Regions from separate parts of the Homo sapiens genome. Here regions 1, 3, 4 and 5 are each linked to region 2. Evidence: promoter capture Hi-C in 16 types of primary human blood cells and fetal thymus (Javierre and others, 2016). All regions are on one chromosome and are shown on one strand. The core of a region is centred on a gene start or on the middle of the fragment in contact, and the rest is flanking DNA. Distances in the headings are between cores, read along the strand shown.

Region 1 (4,821 bases), core at 474-2,973, 430 kb before region 2:
GATCCTAAAACTACTACTATAAGCCAGTGGCTGATGCCTGTAATCCCAGCACTTTGGGAGGCCAAGGAAGGAGGATCACTTGAGGCCAGGAGTTCAAGGCCAGCCTGGGTAATATAGCAAGACCCCATCTCTTAAAAAATACTAAGTAAAAAAAAAAAAAAAATTAAGTAAAACCACTATTGTAGAAGAGATTGCTCAAGAAAATACAAGCTGAGGGAATAACACTTATTGAGCACGCAAAAAGAGCAATTCAAGAGGAGAACCATGAGAATGCCATCTCATAAAACAAGGAAAAAGTCGAGGAAGGAAGGGCAACAGAAATAAGAAAGGTCAAATAAAGATCTAAGAAAAGTCAAATAAAATAATCTCTGAAAAGCATCCATTAGATTTGGTGATTATTAGATCATTTCAGTGTTCCTAAAGAGAAGAATTTCAGTGCCAAAACAGAAAGATAAGCTAGGGCCAGGCAGGGTGGTTCACACCTATAATCTTTGGGAGGCAGAGGTGGAGGACTGCTTGAGCCCAGGAGTTCAAGACCAGCCTGGACAACATATGGAGACCCTGTCTCTACAAAAAAAAAAAAAAAAAAAAAAAAAAAAAAAAAAAAAATTATTTAAATAGCCAGGCACAAGGGTATTGTCTGTGGTCCTAGCTGCTCAGGTGGGTGAGGTGGGAGGATTGCTTGAGCCCAGGAGGTCAAGCCTTCAGTGAGCCGTGATCATGCCACTGCATTCCAACCTGGGCAACAGAGTACGATCCTGTCTCTTAAAAAAAAAAAAAAAAAAAATAGGCAGACAGAGGCAGGCAGGCTCAGGAGTGAATGGGAAATAAGCAACTTACACCATCTCATAAAGATTCTAACTTCAAAAAGCTTGTCTGAGTTCAGGCTGTGGTCTCCAGATAACATCTTCCACTGAAAGGTACTGAGGCGTCTTGCAAAACAAGTTAATTCCAGGTCTGAAGTAGCGTATGTATAGATGAGCCTGGTTCTATTTTTTTGGCGGACGGGGAGGAATCTTTCAAGGACTATTGGAGTTAAGTCAAAGGGATACAGGTGTTTCAGTATTTTTTTTTTCTTCTTGACTCTAATGTAAATGAAATTGTTTTCTTAAAATTTCCTTTTGGGATTGTTCTAGTGTACATAAATACAACTGATTTTTGTGTGTTGATGCCATATCCTGCAACTTTGCTGAATTTCTTACTAACTTGCACAGTTTTGTTTTTGGCATAACTTTAAGGGTATTCTACGTATAAGATCATGTCACCTTTAAATAGAGATAGTTTTACTTCTTCCTGTCCAATTTGAATGCTTTTTATTTCCTTTTTCTTGCTTAACTTCTGGCTAGAACTTCTAATACTACACTGAATAGACATGGTGAAAGAAGGCATCCTCATCTTGTTCCTCATCTGAGGATAAAATCTCTCAGTCTTTCACCACTGAATATGATGTAAGCAATGATTTTTCATGGGTAGCCTTTATCATGTTGAGGAAATTCCCCTCTTTTCCTAGTTTATTAAAGTGCTTTTACAAAGGAAAGGATGTTAGCTTTTCTTTAATACTTTCTCTGCATCAACTGAGATGATTTAGTCATTCCTCAGTATCTGTGGGGGACTGGACCCTGGACCCCCCAAAGATACCAAAATCCTTGAATGCTCAAGTCCCTTATATATAGTATTTGCATATAACCTACACACATCCTCCTATACAATTTAAATCATCTCTAGATTACTTATAACACCTAATACAATGCAAATACTATGCAAACAGTTGTTATACTCTATTTTTAAATGTTGTATTTTTTTTCCTCTGGTCCTTGATTAAGGAATAAATTTGTATTACCTTTTATTTTTTTTTCCAAATATTTTTGATCTGCAGATGTGGAACTCATAGATACAAAGGACAGACTGTAGTGAGTTCTTTTTTTTCTTCATTCTACTAATGTGGTAGATTATACTGATTGATACTTGAGAAAAATTTAACCAAGGAAGCACAAGACTTGTACACTAAAAGACCTGTACAAAACATTGCTGAAAGAAATAAAAGAAGACCAAAATAAATGGAAAGACATTCCATGTTCACAGACTGGAAGACTTAACATTGTTAAGATGACAGTAACTACCCTTGATTTACAAATTCAATTTTGATCCCTGTCAAAATCCTAATAACTCTTTTTTCAGAAATAGGAAAAAACCATCCTAAATTTCACGTGAAATTTCAACACACCCCAAATAGCCAAAACAATCTTGAAAAAAAAAACTTGAGGACTCCTACTTCCTAATTTCAAACCTACTACAAAGCTACAGTAATCAAAACAGTGTAGTACTGACACAAGAACAGGCATATAGACAAATAGAACAGAACTGAAAGTCTAGAAATAAACTCTCGCATTTGTCGTTGTTATGGTCTGAATGTTTGTATCCCTCCTCCCCAGATTCATATGTTGAAGCCTTAACCCCCCATGTAATAATACTTGGAGAGGGGGACTTTAAAAGGTAATCAGCTAGATGAGGTAGTGAGAGTGGAGCTCTCATGATGTGATTAATGCCCTTCTAAGAAGAAACACCAGAAAGCTTACACTCTCTCTCACCTCACAAACACTAAGAAATCACATGAGCACAGAGCAAGGTAGTGGCTACCTACAAGCCAAGAGAAAAGGCCTGAAAATAAAACCTACCTGTGGGCACTTTGATCTTGGACTTCCCAGCCTCCTGAAATGTAAGAAATAAATTTGTTGTTTAAGCCACCCAGACTATGATACTGTGTTACGACAGCCCAAACTGATACGATGGTCAACTGACTTTCAACAAGGTTTCCAGGACCACTCAATGGGGAAAGAACAGGCTCTTCAACAAAAGGTGCTATGAAACCTGGATATTCATACACAAAAGATTGAAACTGGACACTTACTTTGTACCATAAACAAAAATTAACTCAAGATGGATTAAAGACCTAAATTAAAGACCTAAACACTAAAACTCTTAGAAGAAAACATAGGGAAAAATCTACATGAACTTAGATCTAGCAATAGCATCTTAAATATGATACCAAAAGCATAAGCTACAAAAGAAAAACACAAATTGGATTTCATTAAAATTTAAAACTTTTGGCCGGGCGCGGTGGCTCACGCCTGTAATCCCAGCACTTTGGGAGGCCGAGGCAGGTGGATCATGAGGTCAGGAGATCGAGACCATCCTGGCTAACAAGGTGAAACCCCGTCTCTACTAAAAATACAAAAAATTAGCAGGGCGCGGTGGCGGGCACCTGTAGTCCCAGCTACTCGGGAGGCTGAGGCAGGAGAATGGCGTGAACCCGGGAAGCGGAGCTTGCAGTGAGCCGAGATTGCGCCACTGCAGTCCGCAGTCCAGCCTGGGCGACAGAGCGAGACTCCGTCTCAAAAAAAAAAACAAAAAAACAAAAAAACTTTTGTGCATCAAGGCCACTATCGTGAGGGTGAAAAGACAATCTACAGAATGGGAAAAAAATATTTGTAAATTATTTTTGTGATAAGAGTTTAATATTTAGAATATAAAAACAATTCCTAAAACTCAACAACAAAAAAGACAAGCAATTAAAAAACATGCACAAAGGACTTAAATTTGTGCAATTAAAAAACATGCACAAAGGACTTAAATAACATTTCTCCAGAGAACATATACAAAAGGCCAATAAACACATGAAAAAATGTTCAGCATCATTAGTCACTGGAAAAATTCAAATCCAAGCCACAGTAAGATACCACTTCAAGGCCGGGTGCAGTGCCTCACACCTGTAATCCCAGCACTTTGGGAGGCCGAGGCGGGTGGCTCACGAGGTCAGGAGATCAAGACTATCCTGGCTAACATGGTGAAACCTGTCTCTACTAAAAATACAAAAAAATTGGCCGGGTGTGGTGGTGGGCGCCTGTAGTCCCAGGTATTCGGGAGGCTGAGGCAGGAGAATGGCGTGAACCCAGGAGGTGGAGCTTGCAGTGAGCTGAGATTGCGCCACTGCACTCCAGCCTGGGCGACTGAGCAAGACTCCGTCTCAAAAAAAAAAAAAAAAAAAAAAAAAAAAAGATACCACTTCACACCCACTAGGACAGTTATTAACCAAAAATAAAAGACTTTGAAAGGCCGAGGTAGGTAGATCGCTTGAGGTCAGGAGTTCAAGACTAGTCTGGCCAACACAGTGAAACCCCATCTCTACTAAAAGTACAAAAAAAAAAAAAATTAGCCAGGCATGATGGCACACACCTGTAATCCCAGCTACTTGGGAGGCTGAGGCAGAAGAATCACCTGAACCCAGAAGGTGAAGGGTGGAGGTTACAGTGTGGTGAGATGGCACCACTGCACTCCGGCCTGGGCAACAGAGTAACACTCTGTCTCAAAAAAAAAAAAAAAAAAAAAAAAAAAAAAAAAAAACCACACACACAGAAAACAACAAGTATTGGTGAGGATGCAGAAAAGCTGGAATCCTCATGCATTGCTGGTGCAAATGGAAAATGTTATAGCCCCTGTGCAAAAGGTTCCTCAAAAAGATAAACACAGGCTGGGCATGGTGGCTCACACCTGTAATCCCAGCACTTTGAGATGCCAAGGCAGGTGCATCGCTTGAGCTCAGGAGTTCAAGACCAGCCTTGGTAACATGGCCAAACCCCATCTCTATAAGAAAAACTAAAATTAGCTGGGCATAGTGTTGCACATCTGCAGTCCCAGCTACTTGTGGGGCTGAGGTGGGAGGACAGCTTAAACCAGGGAGGTAGAGGCTGCACTGACCCATGATCACACCACTGTACTCCAGCCTGGACAACAAAGTGAGACCCTGTCTCAAAAAATGAATAA
Region 2 (4,860 bases), core at 1,550-4,049:
GTTGGGAAATACTTAACATGTCAATAACCATTTACTGAGCACTGAGAAGGTGCAAACTACTATGCCAAGCACTTTATACACATTTAGGTGATTTAATACTCATAGCAACCCTAGGAGTGGGTACTATTATTGTCTTTTTTTAAAAACAAAGAGTGTAAATAGCTTTTCTGAGATAAGCAGACAAGAGTCAGGATTTGAACCCATGGCTATCTGATTTCTCAGTCTATGCTCCTGAGCCCCTCAGCAATTCTGCTTGAGGGAACTGCTAGCCATGACTCAAGACTCAGCTCAAGGCTTGGTTCCTCTAGGGAGCCTTCCCTGAATCTTCCTGGCTGGGCTGAAGATCCTCCTCTGTGCTGCGTGTGTATACTTCTGTCATCACATTTCTTACATTCTATTGACATTTTGTAGACCCATCTGTTTCTTTAGTCAGAGAACTCTGGAGGCAGGTTGGTCCCAGTCATTTTTGCATCCCCATTGCCTAGCACATGATTGGCTGACCAAATGCCAGTTACTCTGGACAGTTCTGTTCCCTTCTCCTCTCCACATATTCAGTTAGTGAGCAGGTTCTGCTAACAACGGTCTCCTAAATATTTATTTGTACTGTTGGGGCTCAGAAAGCGATACCCCAAAGACTGGCGCTTTGACATGCTGAGAGGCCTTCGAAGCTGCCTCAGAATCAAGGTCCCTCTAACCTTCTCTCCCAAGTATAGGGAGGCACTCTCTCTAGAATTTCCTAATCTGATCGAGAAAACGTCTTTCCAAAAGAAACAAAATTGCCTTCCTCCCCTCTCCGAAATCTCATCTAGCTCAGAAAAGAAGACTGAGGAAGGCAACTACGCCTGGATGGATTTTTCACAAGATGATGCCTGTTTCTCGGGCTCATTCAAATTCTAAAGAGAATCATTTACAAGTTAATTTCTGTCCATTTTTTCGCCCTAAGAATCACTTGCTGCCCTCAGAAGAATTGTCTATATTCTCCATCTCTCCCCTTCCCCTATGAAAAAGAGTGTATACGCTTCTGTACCCCATTGGGTTATTGGGTAATCATTCTCCTGTGACCCTTCCCTTCCCACCCCCTCGCCTCCCCGCCCCGTGCTATGCACGTTAAAATAAAATTTTGTATGTCTTTTCTCCTATTAATCTGCCTTTTGTCAGTTGATTTTCAGTGAACCTTGGCCCCTACAATACTGTTCCCTTTTCTCCATCTTCACTGCCAGAGCTTAGCTTTGAGCTGTTTGAGATAATAGAGGAAGGGTGTCTAATGTGATAAGCAGTCTATGTATGAGGCTTCCTCTGGAGGTGACCCTTAAGCTTGAAAATTGTGCCAGAGCACAATCTGGCATAGTAAAGAAAGGTGGGAAGGGCACTACATGGCCAGGCACGGTGGCTCATGCCTGTAATCCCAGCACTTTGGGAGGCTGAGGCGGGCGGATTGCTTGAGCTCAGGAGTTCGAGACCAGCCCTAGCAACATGGTGAAACCCAGTCTCTACAAAAAGTACAAAAATTAGCCAGGCCTGGTGGTGTGCATCTGTGGTCCCAGCTACTCGGAAGGCTGAAGTGGGAGGATCACTTGAGCCCAGGAGGTTGAGGCTGCAGTGAGCTATGATTGTGCCACTGCACTCTAGCCTGGGCAACAGAGCGAGAGTCCTGTTAAAAAAAAAAAAAAAAGCGGCCAGGCGCAGTGGCTCACGCCTGTAATCCCAGCACTTTGGGAGGCCGATGCGGGCAGATCACCTGAGGTCGGGAGTTCGAGACCAGCTTCCCCAACATGGAGAAACCCCTTCTCTATTAAAAATACAAAATTAGCCGGGCGTGGTGGTGCATGCCTGTGATCCCAGCTACTCAGGAGGCTGAGGCAGGGGAATCACTTGAACCTGGGAGGCGGAGGTTGCGGTGAGCCGAGATCACGCCATTGCACTCCAGCCCAGGCAACAAGAGTGAAATTGAACAACAACAACAAAAAAGGTGGGAAGGTAGATGAAAAAGCATCAATAAGGCACTGAGGTGTGAAACAGTGTGGTCTGCCGGGTTTAGTATGTGCGAGCAAAATAAATATGCAGGCTGAGATTAGTGGGATGAGGGTGGGAAGGGCCTTGTGGGAGCATTAACAAGCTTGAGCTTTGGGACTTTTCTGTATATGATAAAATTGATGTCTGTATAGGGTACAGTGGGGACACAGAGGAGGAAGTGAATACTTGTACCCAAGAGGTCATGTAAGACTTAGGTTTTACTATATTTGAATTATTTTTACACTAACAATAGCCACATTTATTTCCCTGCTGGCTGTGTGCCTGCCACAGTACTTTACAAATATTATCTCTTCCAACCCTCACACCATCCTTGCGAAATGGGTGTTATTACCTCTACACAGAAGGGGAAGGGAGGCTCAGACAGGTTAATAATGTTCCCAAGGTCACTAGAAAGCTAGCCCGGATCCCAAGAGGTCTTAAAGCACTAAAATATACTCTTCTAAGAAGAGCTTCTTGAGGTCAGGGATCATGTCTTTTGTTTTTGCGTGCCCAGACCTAGGTCTTAGAAGACGCCTAATAAACATCAGTTGAAAAAAATGACTGGATGATCTTTCACTTTTTCCACGCAGAAAACACGTGGCGACATCACTGAGAAACCTCCCGGCCAACAGAGGGCGCGACGTCCATTTCAGCGCAGTGGGGCCCAGTTGCGGACGCCTAGCTTCCTTCCGTCCTTTGGCTGAAGTTCAGCCAATCCCTGCGCTCCGAGAGAGCCGGCGGCCAGTGGGCAGGGTCACAGGGCAAGGTCCCGCGGGCCGCTGGGTGCGGCGACTTCCGTGCTCCCGGCGAGCGGGCGGAGAGCGGGGGCCGCACTGGGGAGTGTGGGCTGGGCCGCAGGTGAGCGCGCGGTCCCGGCGAGCAGGTCGGGTCAGCCCAGGCCAGTAACCTCTGAGTTACGGGAGGAGTGATCGCTAGGGTCCACCCCGGTCCCGGCCAGATCTGCCAGCTCCCCTCTCTGGCGGGTGTTCTGGTGCCAAGTCTGGGAGCCCAGGTAGCCCTCCGCAGACAGGGCTTCTCGGCACCTCAATGAGGACGGACGTTGATGAGGCCATGAATGAGGTGGGCTAGGGACAGGGGACCGGGAGACTCACAGAAGGGAGAAGGGTAGCCATTTGGATGGACCTTCGCCTTACTTGCGCTCCCATTCCTGGACTGCGCTCTAGTGACTGTCAGGGCTAATTCTTCCGCCTTCTCAGGCCTCCTGTGTCCTTGTTAGTAGTTCTTGAATTTGGGACTACGGCTTCTGGCCTCGTTGGGCCTCCGGGCCCTCGCACTGGGGCAGGTTTCCCAGCAGCCCAGTTGACCTTTACCGGATGCTTTTGGCAGACGTCCTCCATGCCGGGCTGGAAATATGCGTCACAGTGTTTTTCAGACACTTTTGCCTCTTTCATTGTGATACCCTGCCTGGGGACGACTATGATGGAGTCTTTAGGTTTTTGTAATCAGCAAAGGCATCTGTTATGCTCCTGCCACCTTTTGGGGGAGAGTGGGTGGAGGATGTTGTGATTTTACACTAGGGAGTTTGGGCTGTCATTCATTCGTTCAGCAGACCTTTTTTGGGCACTCTGCCAGGCAGGGTAGGAGAGGTGCCTGGATGGATAGGGCATAATTGGGCCAGACAGACACGGTTCTTAGCCTTTTGGAGCTTAAAGTGTCTTGAGAAACGCAGACAGGGTAAGCCAGCATCGTGCCTGACACAGAGTAAGTGGTTATAAGTGTCGAATAAAGGAATGAATTGACTTATTTGGGAATGATTAGAATGTGAGCAGGACGGTAGCGAGAGACTTTATGCTGCATGTGAGAGATAGTTGTGAACTCATGCGCGATATGTTTTAAGACAGGTTTGGAAATCTGAACGGACAGTTGCTATTTAGGGAAGCATTTACTTATACAGAGGACTTGCTTTAAAGGTGGAAGTAAAATGGAGAAGTATTAGGTTTGGGATTCTTCAGAGGTGCCTCTTTTAACTATTACTATGTCTCTGAATTTCATAAATCCCTGAGTACAATCTCAGAGTTTGGGAAAAGGAAAGCTCTTCTAGGTAATGAAATGCCAGGCTGATGGGAAAAAACTGTAGGAAGCTCTCCCTAAGTCCAGGGTTTGGACAGAAACCGTATACCTCTGCAGTGTGTTCTTCCCACTAGAAAGAGTGTAGGCTTTGAAATTGGAGAGGCCTGGGTTCAAAATCAGTGGCTCTATCACTTCTAGTGATCTTGGATAAGTTAACATAATGTCTGTGAGCCTTTGTGGCCTTCACAAGAGTCTGGGCTAATAATTCCTACATCATAGAGGTGTTATGAGGATCAAATGATGATTAGTGTGTAAATTGTCATCATAGTGCCTGGTGCTGAGACAATAAGCGGGGGAGTCTTGGAGATGCTGCAATTTTTTTTTTTTTTTTAAATTTCATGATGCTGCCTTATTGCAGGGGTCCTTAACCCCCTGGGCCACAGACCAGTGGTGGTCTTCAGCCCATTAGAAACTGGGCTGCACAGCAGGAGGTGAGCGGTGGGCAAGCTGGCAAGCATTACCGCCTGAGCTCCACCTTCTGATAGATCAGCAGCGGCATTAGATTCTCACAGGAGTGCAAACTCTATTGTGAACTGCGCATGTGAGGGATCTACGTTGTGTGCCCCTTATGAGAATCTAATGCCTGATGATCTGAGCTGGAACAGTTTCATCCCGAAACCATCCCTCTCCAACCCCCATCTGTGGAAAAATTGTCTTCCACGAAACTGGTCCCTGGTGCCAAATATAGATTGGGGACCGCTGCCTTATAGTGTTACGTCTAGAGAACATTGGGATTCCTTCAAAGAGAATTGGAAC
Region 3 (4,768 bases), core at 710-3,209, 330 kb before region 2:
CAGGAGGCCAGAAATTTCCACCTCTAGGAGGTGGTGGTGGCATAGGTTATGAAGCTAATCCTGGCGTTCCACCAGCAACCATGAGTGGTTCCATGATGGGAAGTGACATGGTAATGTATCCTGTGGGACGTAGTACCAAGGAAATTCTCATTTTCACAACTTAGGTGTGTTTGTTTTGTTTTGTTTTGTTTTTTTAAGTAGGTGACTGGACCTCTTTTAGTTTCCCCTACCAATTTCATACATAAATATGTAATATTGAGGAATACTTTGGCAACATAGAAGAACTCGGTGTGTGGTAACCTAAACAGATAACGGTTGCCAACAAGGAGTCAATGCTGTTAGTATTATGTGGAATTACCTTTGGCAATAAGTAGATTTAGGTGCTTTTGAACTCTAGTGCATGGCAAATCCAAATTCTAGATGCTAGATAATGTATCTGATTATTCTACATCCAAGTGAGAATAATCAAATGGCAAACTCATTCTTTAAGCTGGTATTTGCCATAAGTAGGAATCAGACTTGTAGTTTGAAGCTTTAGGCACGTTTTAGTGATGTGTAGGACTTTGACCTATATTTGGTGTGGCTTCTATCCTATGAAAAGGGAATTGAGTGTTTTGACTCGTCGTTTCCCACCTGTTGGGCCTGTCTGTAGGTATACCTTCTAAAATCAACTGACATCTCCATTTTGCTACAGAGTAGCAAAAATCAACAATTTTTAAGCATACTAATGGTGTGCATTTGATCTGAACCTTCTTGATGCTATCATGTTTCAGCTGTGAATATAGCCTGTCAGATGCTTAGAACAATCAGTTGAACTGGTATGAGTGGCTGCATTAGGGCTTTACAAATCGTTAGGACTGAATTTTGGTGGGTTTAGAGAGTGCATTTTTATAGCTGAGTTGAATGTGATGAGTTCACTACAGGCTTTTGGCAAAGGAGGGGAGCTGCAGTGAGTAGCTCATAAGATTCATTTTATAAATAGAAACATAAGGATTTTGTATAAGGCCTCACCTGTTTATAATCTACCTAAGACTTTTTGGGAATTAAAGTTAGAATTATAAATGGCTGGTTGGGTAAAATGTAATACTATGGGCTTTCTTTAGATTTTTCAGAGTATGTGGGTAACATTTTGGTTTATATTCTTCCTAAAGACAGATTGTTAGGTAATGTGTAAAATCTAATTTGACCTTATGTTCTCACAATTAAAGGTTTATATTCTAGATAACAGGTAGCTGATAGCTCCTGGGTTCTCAGCTGGTGTAATTAACATAATTATGAAAGCCCCAACTTTTTCTTTTTTTTAAGTTCTTAGAGGTAGAACACAGAACAATGAGCCAAAAACCCTGTAATTTATAAGATTTTGAAAAACAAAGGATAAAAGTTTAGTCATGTTGAGTAGCTCAATAGTATTTTGTTTAAAAGAATGTTGAAATTGTGTATAGGAACAGTTAAACCCTGATGCCCTTTTAGTTTTTTATTTGGAGTAATACTCTTAGTAACTGGTCTATTATAAATGGAATGAGAAAAAGTGTAGGCTGCTGTGTTTGCATACCTGAGGGGTCTGCTATTTAGGCACATATGTTTCTATTGAAAACTTCTATCTCCAGAATTACCTAAAACTAGATGGGAATAGTGAAGTCACTCACTGCTTTATTGCAGTTACTTTAGCTTCGTGTTTCACTGTTCGGGAAGTGTCTAAAACATGGAATTACAGCAAAGTGTCTGCACTTTTCAAAGACCTAAGGGAAAAGATGGACTGATGAAGGTGGGTGGGGTTTGTTCATTTAGTTTGCAACAATATAGAATAGTACTGAGAACGTAATTGTCTCTGGTTATATAGTGATGGCTCGGAAGGTAGTGTGCCTGTGAGAATTTGGCAACATAAGTTTTTTTGATCAAGTTACTGTGCCGGTTAAGTGACTAAATCTATAGTCTTATGCTTTTTCTTTTTGTAGTCTGGTAGCATTTTATTAAAACTTTCAACCTTTTAAGATTTCTGCAACTTAGCAGATGTGTCTTAAGATCTTGAAAAGCACAAGGTTTCTTAAGCAGCACATGCCACTAACTGGTGAGTAGGTCTTTGTCACTTCATTGAGTGAATTGAATCTCTGGTTGGGCTTGTTAGGCTTACTTGGAAATTAAATTTCCGTTCAGACGTTGAAAGTGAGAGTTTGCAAGTTTTTCAGTGGGTTAATCTGATGTGAAATTTCTTAGAACTCATTTTGGAATGGATTTTCACATCTGCACTAATTCTTAAATTTTTTAGCACTACAGGGAAGATCTGTTCTTTGAAACAGGTGTATGAGAATGGCTCAAGTGGGAACATACCACAAGGCATGTATTACCGTAAACTAATTTTCAAATTACCCTTTTTTCCTTTCTATGTTCCCGGTACCTGTGGATCGACTCATTGGTGATTGTATCGACGAACGTTGACTACGGAACCTTCTAAAATATTTACTTAACACACATGGACATCAACTACTTATAATGAACTGTTAATTACTGTTCCAATAGCGTACTGAGCGCTTTGGGCAGGGAGGTGCGGGGCCTGTGGGTGGACAGGGTCCTAGAGGAATGGGGCCTGGAACTCCAGCAGGATATGGTAGAGGGAGAGAAGAGTACGAAGGCCCAAACAAAAAACCCCGATTTTAGATGTGATATTTAGGCTTTCATTCCAGTTTGTTTTGTTTTTTTGTTTAGATACCAATCTTTTAAATTCTTGCATTTTAGTAAGAAAGCTATCTTTTTATGGATGTTAGCAGTTTATTGACCTAATATTTGTAAATGGTCTGTTTGGGCAGGTAAAATTATGTAATGCAGTGTTTGGAACAGGAGAATTTTTTTTTCCTTTTTATTTCTTTATTTTTTCTTTTTTACTGTATAATGTCCCTCAAGTTTATGGCAGTGTACCTTGTGCCACTGAATTTCCAAAGTGTACCAATTTTTTTTTTTTTACTGTGCTTCAAATAAATAGAAAAATAGTTATAATATTGATCTTCAACTTTGCCATTCATGCTTCTATGCATATTAGGCTACGTATTCCACATTGAAAGCATGAGAGTGTCTAGGCCTTTGAATGGCATATGCCATTTCTGGGAAATGCATCTGGAGGCTAAGTATTGCTTTCTACAAATAATTGCCCCCTTTGTTTTAAAAAGAAGAAATGCATATTGAAGTAGTTTGATGATTTGTTTGGCATATAGGAAGCACGCTGGTGCTAAGTATTTTTTAAATGGTTATGTAAGCAAAGCTGAACTGTAAATCTTCAGGAATATGTATTAAGATTGTGGAATGGGTGTAAGACAATTGGTAGGGGGTGAAAGTGGGTTTGATTAAATGGATCTTTTATGGCCCTATGATCTATCCTTTACTTGAAAGCTTTTGAAAAGTGGAAAGGTCATTTTGTTGCATTTCCCCATTTCTTGTTTTTAAAAGACCAACAAATCTCAAGCCCTATAAATGGCTTGTATTGAACTTTTACATTTGAATTAAAGATGTTAAACATGAAGTCTTTTCATGTATTCAAGTGATTTATAAAGATGGGGTGTAGTCTAAAAAACAAAACTTGAAAGTAAGAAGGTTTAGTAACTGGGCCGGGCGCGGTGGCTCACGCCTGTAATCCCAGCACTTTGGGAGGCTGAGGTGGGCAAATCATGAGATCAGGAGTTCAAGACCAGCCTGGCCAACATGGTGAAACCCCGTCTCTACTAAAAATACAAAAAATTAGCTGGGCGTGGTGGCAGGCGCCTGTAATCCCAGCTACTCGGGAGGCTGAGCCAGGAGAATTGCTTGAACCTGGAGATGGAGGTTGCAGTGAGCTGAGACTGCCACTGCACTCCAGCCTGGACAACAGAGCGAGACTCTGTCTCAAAAAAAAAAAAAGGTTTAGTACTGAAGTAGGTTTAGTTATATATACATTTGTACTCTGTAACTTTTACATCTCCTTGTGCTACTTCTGTTGGGCAAAATCTATAGGACTATAAAAATCTATTGGTTCTCTTCTAAGAGCTAGTGGTGATTGTTAACAAATAGGGTTGCAGATAATCATTCTTATTGTAAATTTAACTTGTTTTCACATAGTTTCGTTTTCATGTAGCACTAAATCTGGAGAAAGTTGCTCATGCTACACAGTACAAATATCCCTTCCTCCCACCATAAAGGCTTGGAATGTTTCCATGGTGTTGTCAGTTAATTGTCAACTTCATTGAACCCCCTTCCATTAGAACAAGAGACTTTGACTATTAAAGTAGATTGTTTATTGTTGCCTGTTAGTATAATGGGAGCCTGATTTCCCAGTGTAAATATGTTAGAGGAACAGCTTCCTAACAGTAGGTAAAGTAATTGAATGGTTTGGCTTTGTTCTGAGTTACGTTCCATTCAAATCTGTACATTGTAGAATTCTTACTATGGAATGTGTCTTCCTCCTTTTCACCTCTTTTCTTGGTGCTAATTGGCAAAAGAAAAATTCTAAGTCAAACCTTTATTAACATGCTGAAGTTTAGTATTGTGCCTGTGTACAAAAGGAGACCTATTGTTGGAACAATCTGAGCACTTTCTGCATAGGAAACAGGATAATGCTGAAAGTAAACACTAGTGTATAAAAGCATCTCACCAAATACTGGTTGTATGACTGACAGGTACATGGTGTGCTAAGGGAGAGAATCTCATTAGAAAGTAATGCTCATTATATCATTCACCAGCACACTCGGAAATATGAGTAGTTTTACCATGATTATATCAGTGAGGAAGTTTTGTCCCCAAACAG
Region 4 (4,706 bases), core at 1,615-4,114, 400 kb before region 2:
AGATAATTCCAGGGAATGTGGCTACATAAAACTTGTAGTGGTTTCCACCTGTTTTATTGGCAGTGGAATACTCCCTTCTAATAAAATCTGGTGGTTTAAAATGTGGAGCTGCTAAGTTGGGAGTGTAAGTGGGGAACCCACTAGTCTATTCACCCAGCTTCACCCTTGCACTCTCTCTCCTTTCATGCCCCCTCCCATCATTACAGAAATGTTGAGTTTCTCAGATCACAGTTTAAACTTATTAGTTTAGTCTAACTCCACATTTTCAAGATGAAGCCTCTGAGGCTTAGAGAAGATATGATTTGCTTGAGATCACACACAGGATTAGTAACAGTATCAAGACTGAAACAGACATCTTGATCCTCAGGGCTCTGTCCTACACAGACTGTTTCTGGAGGTATTAGCAATGTGTTAGGTCTCGAATAATAGGTGGGATTTGTGCATTTCAGATAATATACAAGCATAACATGAATGTTCAGGGCAGTCATCCATATGGAGGAATAAGACAAGAGAAAACCATTTAGTGAGCACTGAAAAGTTAATCATAATTTTATAGAAGGATTCACAGAGCTTAAGTGACTAGTCCAAGATCATTCAGCACAGAGGCCAAGTCAGAATTCAAAGCCTTGTTCTTTCTGACTTATTTGAAATATCGTAAAGTAGACATTGTAAATTGGTGGCCTTGTGACCAAATCTGTCCCACAGAAATGCATTTGATTTGTATTGTGTATAGCTATATGATCTTGGTCAAGGTAATTGTCCTGTGCCTCACTTTCCTTATCTGTAAAATGGGACACCAAGAGGATTAAATTAGTTAACATCTCTAAATCTCCTAGAACACTGTTGGTTCCTAATACCATATGAGTATCATTATTATTATTATTATTATTTTTTGAGACAGAGTCTCACTCTGTCATCGAGCTAGAGTGCAGTGGCGCGATCTGGGCTCACTGCAAGCTCCGCCTCCCGGGTTCACACCATTCTTCTGCCTCAGCCTCCCGAGTAGCTGGAACTACAGGCACCCGCCACCATGCCCGGCTAACTTTTTGTATTTTTAGTACAGACTGGGTTTCACTGTGTTAGCCAGGAGGGTCTTGATCCCCTGACCTTGTGATCCGCCTGCCTCGGCCTCCCAAAGTGCTGGGATTACAGGCGTGAGCCACCGCGCCCGGCCATTATCTTTTTTTTAAAAAAAAAAAGTTAAATCATATATCAACATTTTAAATGGGATATTTCACCTACAAGTTCAGTGCTCTGACTTGTTTCAAAAAAAAAAAAAAAAAAAAACTAGACTATAATGGGGCTAGTATCTTGCAAATATCAAACAGATTTCTTTTAACTTTCTTAAGTCATCTTCTGTCATAGACTCTTGCTTGAAATGTAGCCTTGAGACTTATTTTCCCAATCAGGAGAGAACAGAATGGAGAGAAAAAGAATTTGCTAAATTTTCTTAGTTCCATTTAATCTATGAAGCTCAGCACATAATAATTTCATAGAGTTTTTACATACTCCACAGGAAATGCCTTCCACCCAAATATCCTTCCATCCAGGACAGCTAAGCCATGAGGCTGCATATAGGGAAATAAAAGAAAAGTCTGACTCTTTTAATAAAAGGGTAGAGAGAAGAAGAACAAAGAGAAAAGTAAGAGAGGCATCATTGAGAGACATGTGCTCCTGTCTTCCCATTCCAGCTCTTCAAGGCAGAGAGGATTCTTACTCTGCTCCTGTTTAAGATTCCAAGTAGAGATGACTTGCAGACTATGCCCATACCAACAAGCAGACAGCCACATATGAGCAAAAGTCATGCCCTGATGTAGTTGGGAAAAAAGAGCAGGTCTGCATTTAGCTCCTCAGAGTGTCTCTCAGCCAGAGATGAATCCAGGTTTTACAGATCTTGAAGCTTACATGATGGGGGGAGAGGGAGGGTTTTTTTGTTTGTTTGTTTTGTTTTGTTTTTAAGAAAAAGAACACAGAATTACATACACAAAATTAGGTACAGGGTTTTGGGCGGAGCTCTGCAAGTGAGTGGTCCTTAGCTCCTGCGAGAGAAGATATCCAGAAGTTCCCACATACCCTGTAGAAGAATACGGAAAGTAGCCAAGAATGCTGGCTGGCAAGTATAGGAGGAAGTAGCTCTGTAAATTACACTGGGCCAGGAACAAAAAGTAGTAACAGCCAGACCTCAGGAAGAGCTGTGTGGTTTGCCTTCAGGCTCTGAGCAAACTTAGCGAGGCCAGGCTACAAAACATTCCACTCTCTTAACAACAGGCTGTAGAGCATCCTGAGAGGTCAGGGACTCCGAATAGATTCAAGGTCTCAGGCTTCCCCAAAGTCATAATGCCTCATAAATGCAGACGTTATTTTAGATACTCACTCAGAGGGAGAGGGCAGCCACAGGAAAGATACAGTGTTTCTTTCCAAAAGAAATTATTAACTAACAGAATTCTAACCATTAGATTCAAATATGTTTTAAACTACATTGGACATTTAGGTAGATCCATTCAGAAAATGTTAGGAAGAAAGTAAAACAAGTGGGATAAAAAATAACTGTAGTGGGGCTACTTTAGATATGTTAGTCAGTGAATATTTTCCGAGGAGGTGACTTTGTTTTTCTTTTTCTTTTCTTTTGGAGGCAGGGTTTTGGCTGGGCACGGTGGGTCATGCCTGTAATCCCCGCACTTTGGGAGCCGAGGCAGGTGGATCACTTGAAGTCGGGAGTTCCAGACCAGCCTGGCCAACATGGTGAAACCCTGTCTCTACTAAAAATACAAAAATTAGCTGGGCATGGTGGCACATGCCTGTAATCCCAGCTACTCGGGAGGCTGAGGCAGGAGAATTGCTTGAACCCAGGAGGCAGAGGTTGTAGTGAGCCAAGATCGTGCCACTGCACTCCAGTCTGGGCGACAAAGTGAGACGCTGTATCAAAAAAAAAAAAAAAAAAAGAGGCAGGATCTTGCTCTGTCATCCAGGCTGGAGTGCAGTGTCACCTTCATAGCTCACTGGAGCCTCAAACTCCTGGGCTCAAGTGATTCTTCTACCTCGGCCTCCCAAAGTGCTGAGATTACAGCTGTGAGCCATCGCACCTGGCTAGGAGGTGACATTTGAACTGAAACTTAAATCATGACCTCATGACTGAGAGCCATCTGTGCAAATGTCTGGGTCAGAGCATTCCAGTCAAAGGGAGCAGCAAGTGTAAAACCCCTTGGCAGGAACAAACTTGAAGTGTTCAAGAAAAGCAAGGTGCCGATGTTACTAGGACCAAGTGAGATGGGGCAGAAGATGAAGTCAGAGAAGCAGACAAAGACAAATTATGAAGATCCTTGGATGCCATGGTAAGGATTTGTAATTTTCTGTGTATGATGTAAAGCCATTGAAGTCTTTGAAAAAAAAAAAAATGATGTGAACCCTCTGGATACCATGTGCATTGCAGAATAAGCCATAAAGGAGCAAGGGTGGATGTAAGTTACGAGGCTTTGTGGCAGTCCAGGTAAGAGATAACAATGACTTAGCCTAGGGCATTGGCGTTGGAGATAGTAAAAATTAGATTCAGAATATATGTATTTTGAAGGCGTAGCCCATGGAATTGCTGCTAATGAATTGGGTGCTGGGAGTGAAAGAAAAAGTGATTTAGGGATGATTCTTAGCTTTTTAGCCTGAATAGATAGGTTAATGCTGTTGCCCATTATTTGAAATGCAAAAAAAGAGAGCAGATGTGAGAAAGTGGGCAGAGAAAGAAGGAAGATGTCTTGGACATGATAAATTTGAGATGCCTCTAGACATCCAAGTGGAAATGTCGAATAGCAGTTAGATATTCAAATCTGAAGCTTAGGAGAGATAACAGGGCTAGAGATAGAAATATGAGAGTCATTGATATAAGCCATAGACTTGATAGAGTTACCAAGAGCACGTATATTGAAATGAATCCGGAGGCACCCCGACATTTACAGCTCAGGAAGAGAAAGAGAATCAGCCAAGTAGCAGGAAAGTCAGGAGAATTTGTGGTCTCAGTAACCAAATAAAGACTGTTTTGGGAGAGGCTCAATTACTAATTTTTCAGATGTCACTGAGAGGACAAGTAAGATGAGGCCCAAGAATTGATGATACGATTGAAAGATCTTTAGTGATCTGGACTAGAATTATTTCAGTGGATTTGTTTAAACATAAGCATGATTGGAGTGGCTGGAAGAGAGAATAAGAGATGAAGACATAGAAACAGTGAATGTGAACAATTCTTTCAAGAAGTTTCACTTTGAAAAAGATTAGAGAGATAGAGTGCTATTGGAGAGGAATGTGGCCCAAGAAATCTTTTTTTAAAAGATGGGAATCACTAATGCACATTAAAAATAGTAAACCATGACCAAATACATTGGAAAGGTCAAATAAATGACATGGGCCAGGCGCGGTGGCTCATGCCTGTAATCCCAGCACTTTGGGAGGCTGAGGCAGGTGGATCACCTGAGGTCAGGAGTTTGAGACCAGCCTGGCCAACATGGTGAAACCCTGTCTCTACTAAAAATACAAAAATTAGCTGGGCATGGTGGCAGGCATCTGTAATCCCAGCTACTTGAACCCGGGAGGCTGAGGCAGGAGAATCGGTTGAACCTGGGAGACAGAGGTTGCAGTGAACTGAGATTGCACCATTGCACCCCAGCCTGGGCGACAAGAGCAAAACTCCATCTCAAAAATAAATAAATAAATAAATAAAT
Region 5 (4,443 bases), core at 1,130-3,629, 440 kb before region 2:
AAAAAGTAAGTAAAGACCAAAAAACTAATGGATATTTTAAAAAATAAAATGAAACAAAAAGAAGGTAGGTTAGAGGGGCTCCCACAGGCTGAATATGGGATAATTTGAGTATCAAAATGAATACTGGTAACAATGGATCATGACACACTGATTAAAGAATTCGTGAGACCTTACTGATACATAAAAATAAACAAGCATTCATAGAAGGAAAATATAAGACAAGGCCCTAAAATATGGTGGAGAAAAAGGAAGGGAGAGAGATAAATGAAATATACTATTCTACAGGTTCTATAAATGATATAATTTTTAAAGATAATAACTTAAAAGATGCATGCTGTAATCTTTACAATAACCTCTAAATACAAAGGAATACATCTAAATACTCAAAATAGAACAGTGAAAAAATGCAATCTACCTACAATAAGGCGAGAATAAAGAACAAATGGCATCAATAAGACACAAATAAGAAGACAGAAGACTTAAATCCAACTATGTAATTACTACATTAAGTCTAAAAGGAATAAACACAACAATTACAAACTGTCAGACTGCAGAAAAAGGCAAAACCCACATAGAGACACAGACTGAAAGTCAAAGGGTGGGGAGGGTAACACATGTCAATCCAAACACTAAGCATAAAAAAACCCTGATATTATATATAACCACATTAATCTCAGATATAGGAGGCCTAAAGAGAAAGTATGCACCCAGCACAGTGGCTCACACCTGTAATCCCAACACTTTGGGAGGCAAAGGAAGGAGGATCACTTGAGGCCTGGAGTTGGAGACCAGCCTGGGCAACAAAGCAAGAAAAATCCCATCTCCACAAAAAATAAGAAAACTCAGCTAGGCACAGTGGTGTGTACCTGTAGTTCCAGCTACTTGGGAGGCTGAGATGGGAGGACTGCTGGAGCCCAGGAGTTCGAGGCGGCAGTAAGTTATGATTACGCCACTGCACTCCAGCCTGGGTGATGAGCAAGACACTGTCTCTAAAAAAAAAGAAGAGAAAACATGACAAGAATAGAGTCACTCAGCCAAGCATGGTGGCCCAAGTCTGTAATCCCAACACTTTGGGAGGCTGAGAGATCACCTGAGAAAAAAAATCTTAAAAAAAACAGAAAGAAAAAAGAATAGAGTCACTAAATATGATCATCAACAAGACATAACTCTATATGTGAAGCAACTAACAATACAACTTCAAAATACATGAAGCAAAAAACAGAACTAAAGAGATAAGTAAAATCTCCAACTGTGGCTGCAGATTTATAGTTCTGTCAGTTAGAACAAGACAAAAAAACAAGTAAGACACAGAAGATTTTTACAGCCCTACCAACCAACTTGACCCAAGTGGTATTTATAGAAACACTACACCTAATAACTTGGTATGCACTTTTTAAAGTTTACTTGTGGGCTGGGCGCAGTCGCTCACGCCTGTAATCCCAGCACTTTGGGAGGCCAAGGCGGATGGATCACGAGGTCAGGAAATCAACACCATCCTGGCCAACATGGTGAAACCCCATCTCTACTAAAAATACAAAAATTAGCTGGTCGTAGTAGCGCATGCCTGTAATACCACCTACTTAGGAGGCTGAGGCAGGAGAATCGCTTGAACCAGGCAGTCAGAAGTTGCAGTGAGCTGAGATTGCGCCACAGCACTCCAGCCTGGGGACAGAGCAAGACTCTGTCTAAAAAATAATAAAAAATAAAGTTTACTTGTGGAGGCACCAAGATACACTATATGCTGGACCATAAAAAAAGAGCATCGATAGAAATCAAATAATTGAGGCTGGGAGTGGTGGCTCACACGTGTAATCCTATCACTTTGGAAGGCCAAGGTGGGAAGATTGCTTGAGGCCAGAAGCTGGAGACCAGCCTGGGAAACATGGTGAAACCCCATATCTAAAAAAAAAAAAATACAAAAAAAAAATTAGCCAGGCATTGTGGCACACGCTATAGTCACAGGTACTCTTAAGAGGCTGAGGTGGGAGGATGATTTGAGCCCAGGAGGCAGAGGTTGCAGTAAGCTAAGATCGAGCCATTGCACCCCAGCCTGGATGACAGAGCCAGATCCCGTCTCAAAGAAAAAAAAAAAGAAAAAAAAATCAAATAACTGAAATAATAGAAAATACATTCTCTGACCTCAGTGGTATTAAATTTGAAATCACTATAAAACAAGATAATTACAATATCAAAAATTAGAAATTAAGCATACTTCTAAAGAAACTGTATGGCCGGGCGCGGTGGCTCACGCCTGTACTCCCAGCACTTTGGGAGACCAAGGCGGGCAGATCACTAGGTCAGGAGTTCGAGACCAGCCTGGCCAACATAGTGAAACCCCATCTCTACTAAAAATACAAAAAATTAGCCGAGTGTGCTGGTATGCACCGGTAATCCCAGCTACTCAGGAAGCTGAGGCAGGAGAATCGCATGAATGTGGGAGGCGGAGGTTGCAGTGAGCCAAGATCATGGCATTGCACTCCAGCCCAGGCGACAGCGCGAAACTCCGTTTCAAAAAAAAAAAAGAAACTGTATGGTAATGTAAGTAGAAAAATAAATCAGAGAAAACTCAGTAAATATTTTGAACTGAATGATATATAAACACAACTTACTAAGAGTTTGGGGATGCACTTAAAGCAGGGCTTAGAAATGTCTATAGCTTTAAACCATAAGTTATTGATATAACTTAAAGAAGGATGCCAAATCAAGAAGCTAGGAAAAGAAAGCAAAGTAAACCCAAAATAAGTGGAAAGAAGGAAATAATAAAGATAAAAGCAAACATCAATCAAATAATGATAAAAGCAAAAATAAATTAAATAGAAAATAAAGAACAGCATAAAAATCAGTGAAACCAAAAATGAGTTCTATCAAAAGATCAATATAGGCTGGGCGCTGTGGCTCATGCATGTATCACTTGAGGTCAGGAGTTTGAGACCAGCCTGGCCAACATGGCAAAGCCCTGTCTCTACTAAAAATCCAAACATTAGATCGGTGTGATGGTGCGTGCCTATAGTCGCAGCCACTTGGGAGGGTGAGGCAGGAGAATCGCTTGAACCCAGACGGCGGAGGTTGCAGTGAGCCGATATTGTGCCACTGTACTCCAGCCTGGGTGACTCCGTCTCAAAAACAAACAAACAAACAAACAAAAAACACAAATTGCCAATATCAGGAATGAAAGAGAGATCACCACTACAAATCTACAGACATTACAAGGAATATAAAGAAATACTATAAGCAATTTTTTTTCTTTTCTTTTTTTTTTTTTTTTGAGACAAGGTATCCCTCTGTCACCAGGCTGGAGTGCAGTGGTACCATGACAGCTCATTGCAGCCTCGACCTCCCAAGTTCAACTGATCCTCCCACCTCAGCCTCCAGAGTAGCTGGCACTACAGGCAATCACCACACCTAACTAATTTCTGGATTTTTTGCAAAGACAAGGTTTTTTTGTTTTTTTTTTTTTGCCAGGTTTCCCAGGTTGGACTCGAACTCCTAGACTCAAGTGATCCTCCCACCTCAACCTCTGGTGGAGCTAGGAATATAGGCGTGGTCACTATGCCCTGGATAATTTTTTTTTTTTTTTGGAGACAGTGTTTCCCTGTATTGCTCAGGCTGGTCTCAAACTCCTGGCCTCAAGCAATCCTCCCACCTCCAGCCTCCAGAGTAGCTGAGATTGCAGGCATGAGCCACCACATCAGGCTCTCTTTTTAAAAACAGCTCTTTAAAATGCAAAAGCCAGACTGGGTGCAGTAGCTCACACCTGTAATCCCAGCACTTTAGGAGGTCAAGGCTGGAGGATCACATAAGCCCAGAAGTTTGAGACCAACTTAGCAACATAGTAAGATCCCATCTCTACAAAAAAATAGTCAAATTAGGCTGGGCGCTGTGGCTCACACCTGTAATCCCAGCATTTTGGAAGGCCGAGGAGGGCGGATCATGAGGTCAGGAGATCGAGACCATCCTGGCTAACATGGTGAAACCCTGTCTCTACTAAAAATACAAAAAATTAGTGGGGCATTGTGGCAGGCACCCATAGTTCCAGCTACTCGGGAGGCTGAGGCAGGAGAATGGCATGAAACCGGGAGGCGGAGCTTGCAGTGAGCTGAGATCGCACCACTGCACTCCAGCCTGCACAACAGAGCAAGACTCCATCTCAAAAAAAAAAAAAAAAAAAAAAAAAGTCAAATTAGCCAGTCCGCTGGCACAGGCCTGTAGTCCCAGCTTCTCCAGAGGCTGAGGCAGGAGGATCTATTGAGCCCAGGGGTCAAGGCAGCAGTGAGCTGTGATGGTGCCACTGCACCCCAGCCTGAGTAACATAGCAAGGCCCTGTCACAAAAAAAAAAAAAAAAAAAAAAAAAGCAAGAGCCGTTTTTAGCTTGTGGATAATACAAAAATAGGCTACCGACTAGAATTTGGCCTGTGAGCTACAGCTTGTTGACCCTTGTTCTA

The links. The method cuts DNA at HindIII sites, captures the fragments that hold promoters and counts their contacts. A CHiCAGO score of 5 or more calls a contact.
Region 1: a contact is called between a fragment that was not itself captured here and the fragment with the promoter of SMIM12 in region 2, in 2 of 17 cell types (fetal thymus and non-activated CD4 T cells). The highest score is 6.4, in fetal thymus.
Region 3: a contact is called between a fragment that was not itself captured here and the fragment with the promoter of SMIM12 in region 2, in 1 of 17 cell types (fetal thymus). The highest score is 6.5, in fetal thymus.
Region 4: a contact is called between a fragment that was not itself captured here and the fragment with the promoter of SMIM12 in region 2, in 4 of 17 cell types (total B cells, total CD8 T cells, erythroblasts and 1 more). The highest score is 7.4, in total B cells.
Region 5: a fragment that was not itself captured here is called in contact with the fragment with the promoter of SMIM12 in region 2 in 3 of 17 cell types (fetal thymus, naive CD8 T cells and naive CD4 T cells); the score reaches 7.5 in fetal thymus.

What each region holds. Positions count from the first base shown.
Region 1 is chr1:35,282,561-35,287,381 of GRCh38, reverse strand. All of the region lies in intron 1 of ZMYM4 (zinc finger MYM-type containing 4), which reads right to left. Among named protein-coding and RNA genes, the nearest start is that of ZMYM4, 16 kb to the right of the region's middle. The HindIII fragment of the contact is 1,700 bases long and covers 874-2,573 here.
Region 2 is chr1:34,857,688-34,862,547 of GRCh38, reverse strand. It overlaps SMIM12 (small integral membrane protein 12), which reads left to right and starts at 2,799. Exons shown (of 2, transcript NM_138428.6): 1 at 2,799-2,871. RefSeq lists a silencer at 2,848-2,977. The HindIII fragment of the contact is 6,874 bases long and covers 2,119-4,860 here.
Region 3 is chr1:35,182,343-35,187,110 of GRCh38, reverse strand. It overlaps SFPQ (splicing factor proline and glutamine rich), which reads left to right. Exons shown (of 10, transcript NM_005066.3): 9 at 1-110; 10 at 2,518-4,175. The coding sequence ends at 2,655. Among named protein-coding and RNA genes, the nearest start is that of SFPQ, 8.4 kb to the left of the region's middle. The HindIII fragment of the contact is 2,849 bases long and covers 535-3,383 here.
Region 4 is chr1:35,262,554-35,267,259 of GRCh38, reverse strand. No RefSeq gene overlaps it. Among named protein-coding and RNA genes, the nearest start is that of ZMYM4, 3.8 kb to the left of the region's middle. The HindIII fragment of the contact is 1,924 bases long and covers 1,903-3,826 here.
Region 5 is chr1:35,302,110-35,306,552 of GRCh38, reverse strand. The region is part of intron 1 of ZMYM4 (zinc finger MYM-type containing 4); the gene reads right to left. Among named protein-coding and RNA genes, the nearest start is that of ZMYM4, 36 kb to the right of the region's middle. The HindIII fragment of the contact is 6,308 bases long and covers 1-4,443 here.